Regions from separate parts of the Homo sapiens genome. Here region 2 is linked to region 1. Evidence: promoter capture Hi-C in 16 types of primary human blood cells and fetal thymus (Javierre and others, 2016). All regions are on one chromosome and are shown on one strand. The core of a region is centred on a gene start or on the middle of the fragment in contact, and the rest is flanking DNA. Distances in the headings are between cores, read along the strand shown.

Region 1 (4,183 bases), core at 1,253-3,752:
GGCCAATGTCCAGAATGTCATTTTCTAGGTTTTCCATAATTTGAGGTCTTACATTTAAATCTTTAATCCATCTTGAGTTAATTTTTGTATATGGTGTAAGGTAGGGGTCCAGTTTTATTCTTCTGCATATGGCTAGCCAGCTATCCCAGCACCATTTATGAAATAGGGAGTCCTTTTCCCAGGACTCCTGCCACCAGGATGCACTCCCTGCCCTGTTTGGTGTAGACCTCTGACTTCTATTGATAAATCTATTGTAACACTAAACACCTTGTGATATTGTGATCATTTATAGGTGGTACTCACTCTGTGCAATTTTATGGTAATTGAACTTATCTTTGTCAGATTGTGAACATCTCAATGAAAGTGATTGTGTTTTTTGTTTGTTTGTTTGTTTGAGACACTGTCTCGCTCTGTTGCCCAGGCTGGAGTGTGTTGTTGCAATCTCAGCTCGCTGCAGCCTCTGCCTCCTGGGTTCAAGCAATCAAGCAGTTCTCCTACCTCAGCCTCCTGAGTAACTGGGATTACAGGTGACCACCACCACACCCAGCTAATTTTTTTTTTTTAGTAGAGATGGGGTTTCACCATGTTGGGCAGGCTGGTCTCAAATTCTGATCTCAGGTAGTCTGTCTGCCTCAGCCTCCCAAAGTGCTGGGATTACAGACATGAGCCACCACTCCCGGCCATGATTGTGTTTTTTCAACTGCAATCTCAGTGTCTGACACATAATAGCTGTAAGTAAAATTACGTTGAATTAATGGAGAAAAAATATGTAATAATTAAAAGTTGAAGTATCCTTTCTGTTCCCTGGAAAAGACAAAGCAATGGAACTTGGGTTGAAAAGGCAAGAAATCTGTGAATCGCAATCCTGATGGTTAAAATGCTCAGTAACTAGACTCAAAAATTCCTTTGTGGTTTTAGTTGATGACTGTATAATCATTTGGAGACATCAATAATCACTGTAATCCCTCTAGTATGAGAATGTGTTTCAGAATCTGTAAAATGATGCATGATTTTAGTGGACTAGGACTAGGTTTTGTGGTAATAACTGGTCCTCAGCGTAATTTCTATTCCTTAGGAATTTCATAATTATTTCTATTCTCCCAGAATCTTTTCAATAGAAATGATACTGGGAGTACAAGTCAGCTAAGCCAAGGGAAAGCATTAGAGTATATGACTAAGAGCCCAGACAACACATAGTTCAGATTCCACTTCTACCACTTACTGGATAGGTGACTTTATCTGCTTAATCTTCTTAATCTATACAATGAGGGGACAACTGATTCTTAATCTTTTGAATTTTGCCTTTAAAACCCCAAATTTTCACCTGCAAAATGATTGTAAATGCATAATACATGAGTATCATAAAGACTAATAAAATAACAAGTACAGTAGATTTAGGAGAGTACCTGTATTAGTCCATTTTCATACTATCACGAAGAAATATCTGAGACTGGGTAAATTAAAAAGAGGTTTCATGGCCTCACAGTTTCACATGGCTGGGGAGGCCTCACTCTCATGGTAGAAGGTGAAGGAGGAGCAAAGACACATCTTACATGGAGGCAGGCAAAGAGAGCCTGAGCAGGGGAACTGCCCTTTATAAAATCATTAGATCTTATGAGACTTATTCACTATAATGAGAACAGCATGGGAAAAGCCCGCCCCTTGATTCAATTATCTCCCACTGGGTCCCTCCCACAACACATGGGGATTATGGGAGCTACAATTCAAGATGAGATTCAGGTAGGGACACAACCAAACCCTATCAGTACCTAAAACTTAATAAGCAGCTCAGTTGATATTAGTTATTTTATTGGTTATAAGTATGATTTTTAGACATGCCCAGTTTAGCCTTACTACCACCAGTGACAGATCCTAAAATTGTATCCTTTGGGTCTTGAATCCTTCTTCCACACTCCTCATTGCCAGTTATGACACAAATACCCCCAAGGATCTAAAAATTATTGTGCTTATATTGTCAGACATTCTTATTTCAGGATAGTTCAAACTTCCTGAGAGTACACTTGTGTGAGGAATAGAACATAAAATAATGGAAAAGAGAATGCTATATAGTAATTAGGTTGAATTAGAAATTGCTTTACATAACCACATTATGTATGTGGGGGAAAAATAACATTCTTAATAACTTTTTTCCTACAACTGTATATATATAAAAATATATTTAAACATATATTTATATATCATATCCGTAATGTAAATAAATGTCTAGCATGTTTTTCAAGACTCATTAATGCAGTTGCCTCTTTCCTTGTAGCTTATCTGGCTATAGTAATATGTTGGAAATGTACTACTTTGGAGTGGGGAGTATGGCAAAGGAGAGCAAAACAATAGTTCAGATCAAGTAATCTTAGAGCCAGGAGGCAGCCAGGACTTCCGCCTGCTGGGCCATTGTTGCAGGACCACAGCTTCGAGGTTGCGCAACACCTTTAGTAAACACTTCCTGAATCAGAGACAAGAATGAACCAGGGAGTTTCATTCTGTCTCACTGGAGAGGAGGCAGGGACAGACCCAGCAGCACCCACCTGAGCGAGAAGAGCAGACACCGTGCTCCTGGAATCACCCAGCATGTTGCAAGGTCTCCTGCCAGTCAGTCTCCTCCTCTCTGTTGCAGGTACATATTTAGCTCTTTTTCAGGTTCTATTGAATGCATTAGCGAACTTTTCATAGTCTCCTAATAGTTTTATTGTATAAACTATTTTGACTTTTTTCTTTTTCTTTTTTCTCAATCAATCTTACTAACCAGTTGGGCTGGTTTTAACCTGTTGTTTGGGGGCTGCGAGTGATACAAAGACAATGTTAAAAAGAGGCAACAAGAGGTCTTGAACCAATATGTATGCATCTCATCTGAGAATATACAGAAATAAAAGGGACAATTTCATACAGCACAATTTAAATCATGAATATGATTTTTGACTGAAAAAGTGGAATTCATCAAAACCCAGCTTGTCATTTAAAGAATGGTAAAGATGTGGCAGATTTATTTATTTATTACTGTGTACAAGGCTTAGGAAAATACCTACTATTATTATGGGAGCCAGTTTGGCTCTTTCTGTTTGAGTGTATATTTTTGTATTTACTCATTATTAGTAATAATACGTGTGACTAACTGGAAATAATTAATATTTTTTATTTATAAGGTACTGTGATATTACTTAACAAAATATCTCTGTTAAGCTTAAATTGATAATTTACTTCTATTTTGCTGATTATACCAAACATTTAAAAATTTGAAAGGAGAAAAATACTACTTCCTAACAGGAAATTATGTCTAGCAAGTCTCTCAATTTCTGGTAAATTCTCTAATTAGACTTTGGTTAAATTAGATTGGGTATTGTGATTCTTCAGCTTCTATTTCCAGAGCTTATTTAACTCAGCACATGAACTGCAGTGCCTCGAATTCCTCCCAGTAAACCTGTTCTTGGGTCTTAGAATGTTTGCTGGGACCTGGGGATGGGAACAGATTATCAACTAGAGGTATGGGCTTAGGGAGGGAAAAGTTTTCCTTGTCCATGCACCCTCTTAGTACTTTGTTGCTAAAAATGATTTTCCTGTGTCTCACCTGTTTCTGATTTGTTTTCAAGACTTATAAAAATTTCACTTAACCTAATATCTTTAAATATCGAATTATTTTCCTTTTGTTTCTGTGTATTTTTGCTTTATATAATATGTACCTATATCTGAACTGAACCTTTTCCCACTGTGCTGTGATCCTCTTCATCTCTAATGCCTTTTGCTTTGATACCTATTTTGTCTGATGTGAACGTGTTACACCAGCTTTCTTTTGGTAAAATAAGCCTGAAATATTAAAAATATATATAAAACTCATGCCAGGCATTTAACATTGACCTGAAATTCCTACTTTTTGAGGCAGACTTAATAGAAATGTTTTTTTCTCTCCGTTCTCCAAAAATGCTATCACCAAGAGCTTTTCCAGAACCCCCTCTAAGCTGAAATACAAGAACTGCTTGGGCACTAGCTTAGTTGAAGAGCGTAAAGATCAAGCTGGATCCATTAACAGAGTCACATGGCTAACACTGGGGCCCATGCACATTACAGTCCTTTTGTGCAACTGGGCACACTAATCAGTTCTGCTGCCCCGACGGTGCATGTATAACATGGCACCAAGAGATGCAACTTCCTCTGATGTCAACTCTAAAAGTGTGAT
Region 2 (4,183 bases), core at 741-3,240, 48 kb before region 1:
GAAACAGTTTGTGGGAAACTCATTGAGAATATTACTGATTGCCAGTAATATTTTGGCATTAATTTCAGGGTCTGACTCATTCTCACTCAGACTTTGTCATAAAAATAAAATGTGTGAAGCTTAGGACTTTTAAAAAAAATGTGAAATCAAATAGGGATTACTAAATTTAGTAATACAGGTTTTCCTTCTGGAGTGGTTCTAAAATTAATTCCAAAATAATTCCAAGACATGATCTAGGGCAGTGGTGGAATATCTTTAGAATAATTTAAAAGGGAGATAACCTCCTATGGTGGATACTTCGAAGTAAAAAACATTCACATGGATTTGCAAATGCTGCATTGTTTGAAAACATTCTCATTTTGTCAATGCAGTCTTATTCAAAATATACTAAATTTGAAGTCAGCTACTTGAGTTAATATCCTGCCTATATAACTCATCAGTTGTGTTACATTGAGCAAGTTCCAGAACTTCAGTGACTCGATATTGTCATAGGTAAACATACAGTAACAAAGACTTTCTTAAATGCATGATTTGAGGATTATAAATATTATTTATTTAAAGCACAAAGCTCAGTGCTGGCCATAATGAAGACATCCTGCAAATGGTAGTTATTCCTATACATACTGATATGGTTTGGCTGTATCCCCACCAAAATCTCATCTTGAAATCCCATGTGTTGTGGGAGTGACCTGGTGGGAGGTAATTGAATCTTGGGGGGCGGGACTTTCCTGTGCTGTTCTCCTGCTAGTGAATAAGTCTTATGAGATCTGATGGTTTTAAAAATGAGAGTTTCCCTACAAAAGCTCTCTCTTTGCCTGTCGCCATCCGTGTAAGATGTGACTTGCTCCTTCTTGCCTTCTGCCATGATTGTGAGGCTTCATCAGCCATGTGGAATTGTGAGTACTCCCTTAAACCACTTTCTTTTGTAAATTGCCAAGTCTCAGTTATGTCTTGATCAGCAGCATGAAAATGGACTAATACATGTATTGATATCAAAACCACCAAAGTAGGAGCAGAAGTATAAGGATCTTGTCCCACTCATACTATATTGTACTACTTTCAATTTTGTCAATCAGTAGATTGTAAACTTTTTTAAGGAATAGAGTTTATACATCTTCCAAAGAACCCAGATATATGATGAATATGAAATTGTTACTCAACTTTATGAATTTTTGCATTCCTATTGAGCACTTTAGATTGCTCACATAAACATTAAACTAAAAAAGCAATCTGAGAGTGCTTACATTTCTCTTATTTTGGTGTTTCACAAAAATATTTGATCACTAGGTGGCAGCAATACGTAGAGAAGGAGCCTGAAGATCTGACGTTCGCTTGCAAAAAGTTGGCTCTTCTGCACAATCACAGCCAGCCTGTCAGCCTCCCGGTTGCTGTGATGGACCTGAGTCACTTCCCATCACAAAGAGCATTTCCCAGCTGATGCTAAGGACCCAAGGCCATAGCATCTGTCTTTACCTCCTCAACAGAATGGGTAGCTTGTCATTTGGGGATTTCAAATATTTTTAGTAAAAAATGTTACTGAATAAACAGTGGTACTTTAAAAGTGCTGCCCATTGATCTTAGGAGTGTTTCTATTTCAACTCCAGTAAGCTTGTCCTCTTTCTGTAGCTACATCATAAGCTGTTTCTATAGCTGTTTCTGTAGTTACATCATGAGCCCCTGTGAGGATATTTATTTTGACCTTTCAACATTTTTTACTTACACATTCTCATCATTCTCCAAATTGAGTTATAATGGTCTATGGAAGATAATTGTTTTAACCAGTCATAACACAGAGTATAGAACTAATGGAGATTTAATTTTTTAAATTTTAGATGAATTCACAGAGTAGGTGCAAAGACAGCGCAAAGAATTCCCACATACTTTCCTGGTAAGGATATTTTACCTCTCTGTATTCCTGGTGGCTAGCTGTATGCCTCACACTATTGAATGAATGATTTAATACCAGTGGCCCTATAAAATATTGTACCTGTTAATGGACGATGAAGAATGATGTTTCAGTCAGGTTGGGCTGCTACAACCAAATATCATAAACTAGATGGCTTACCAACAAAAGAAACTTATTTTTCATGGTTCTGGAGGCTGGAAGTCCAAGATTATGGTGCCAGCATGGCTGGGTTTTGGTGACAGCTCTCTTCCAGGTTGTAAACAGCTGACATCTCTTTGTGTCTGCATATAGCAGAAAAGAAGTGAACTAGCTTTCTGGCCTCTTCTTATAAGGGCACTAATCCCATTCATGGAAGCTCTACCCTCATGATCTATTACCTCTCAAAAGCCCCACCTCTAAATTCCATCATATTGGGAATTAGATTTCAAGGAATTAATTGGTTTTAAGGACATGCCATGGTCCAGATGAAGCTTAGAAACCAGTCACTATCCAAAGAAACATAAATTTGAAAGTCATTTTCATGTGCTTCTCTTATTATCATTTCAAGACCTCTTTCACATCTGCCTATTTGCATTTTATCCCAGTTTTCAACCATTTTTACACATTTACTATTTACTGCAATCTTTACTGTGATCTTAGGTGAAACAGACATTATTCTGTTGATTTTACAGACAATTGAGGTGACAGAGAGGTTAAGTAACTACATGAGAATTAAAAAGTGTAGAAATTTAAATAGTTTGACTTCAATTTACTGTTATTTCTTCTTTGCCTCATTCTTCTTACCTCAATACAAATGTAATGAGTGCTCTATTGAAAACAAATTTTAATCAGAGGTAAGAATGAGTTAAGCCCTAAGGCTTTGCACAGCATTTAATCTGAAAGCAAGAACCTTAAATACAATCCTCCTACTTTTTGAGTAGAATGGCTCCAGCTGTCTTGGCAGGGATAACCCCTTGTCAATAACATTTCAGAGTTTAGAGATTTAAAGAATTTATTTTCACCTGACATGCATGGCATACCTGAAACCACCTTTGCAAAAATTATAACAGTGAGAAAATTATGGCAGTGAAAGGGATTTGGCCCCCTGACTCCATTTTGCTTCTAACCTCCAAGCTGCACTTGTTCATTCCTAGGCACAGGCTAAACTAACTTTGGGAGGAACTTAGTTTACAGCTTAACTTTGAAACAAAGATAATAACAGCCCTTTCCGGAAACAAGCCCCCTTCTAGCCTGGGGACCAGACTGCCTTGTAAAACTAACATATTAGCCACAAGATTAGAAATTATGATTTAGGAGTTATGAAGCTAGAGGCCACAGTATTCCAAACGTTCCCAGTTGCTCCTAGGGATAGCATCACAATGGTAAATCCTAAGATTGATGCTTGAGATGTTTTTTAGACCCTTAGTTCTGATGCAACAGCTGGCGCCAACCAGATCAGTAATCTGGCTCAACCAGTTGTGCAATCCCACGCAGGAATAGAAGGCAGCAAGAAAAACCCATTTGACCCCGTATGATTTCATCTCTGACCCAACCCATCAGCACTCCTCCACTCCCTGGCCCCCCACCAAACTATCCTTAAAAAGCCCCCATCTCCAAATTTTCTGAGAGACTGATTTGAAAAATAAAACTCCAGTCTCCCATTCAGCTAGCTCTGTGTGAATTAAGCTTTTTCTCTACTGAAATTCCCCTGTCTTGATAAACCAGCTCTATCTGGGCAGCAAGCAAGAAGACCTCATTATGTGATTACATACTTCTTGTAATAGTTAGGGCTCATTTGGTCTCAAGTATCAGAAATTCCAGACCACTTTGACTTTCACATTAATGAAATCAGTTTCTAACTTAAAGTCCAAATATGGGACTACCTTCAGGAGAGACTCAACTCAGATCCAGACGATGTTACTCAGGACCTGTCCTCACTCTCTCTTTATCCTGCTTTCTGCAGCATTGACATCTCTCTCAATGTCCACCCCTCCATTCTGCAGCCCACTCCACTTACCCCAACACAGTGCTAAGCTCTCAATTCATGGTAGCAAAATGGCTGCAGTGGCTCCAGGTGTTAACTTCAGCCTACATTATTTAAGAGTACAGAGAGGTTCTCTTCTGGTAGATCCCAAGCGAATGCTGAGATGTATCCTTTCTCTGGCCTGAATTGGATATTACACAAACCTTACAGAACAGAAGGCAGGATCTGCTGGTTGGCTATAAGCCAACCAGGGGCCATTTCTGCAACTGGGAGGGGGTGGTCCTTCCCAAGCCTCCTGCTGGATAATGATGGCA

Evidence for each region. The method cuts DNA at HindIII sites, captures the fragments that hold promoters and counts their contacts. A CHiCAGO score of 5 or more calls a contact.
Region 2: a contact is called between a fragment that was not itself captured here and the fragment with the promoter of ADAM28 in region 1, in 2 of 17 cell types (total B cells and naive B cells). The highest score is 10.9, in total B cells.

What each region holds. Positions count from the first base shown.
Region 1 is chr8:24,291,567-24,295,749 of GRCh38, forward strand. It overlaps ADAM28 (ADAM metallopeptidase domain 28), which reads left to right and starts at 2,503. Exons shown (of 23, transcript NM_014265.6): 1 at 2,503-2,629. The coding sequence starts at 2,584. The HindIII fragment of the contact is 10,253 bases long and covers 1-3,190 here.
Region 2 is chr8:24,243,861-24,248,043 of GRCh38, forward strand. No RefSeq gene overlaps it. Among named protein-coding and RNA genes, the nearest start is that of ADAM28, 48 kb to the right of the region's middle. The HindIII fragment of the contact is 768 bases long and covers 1,607-2,374 here.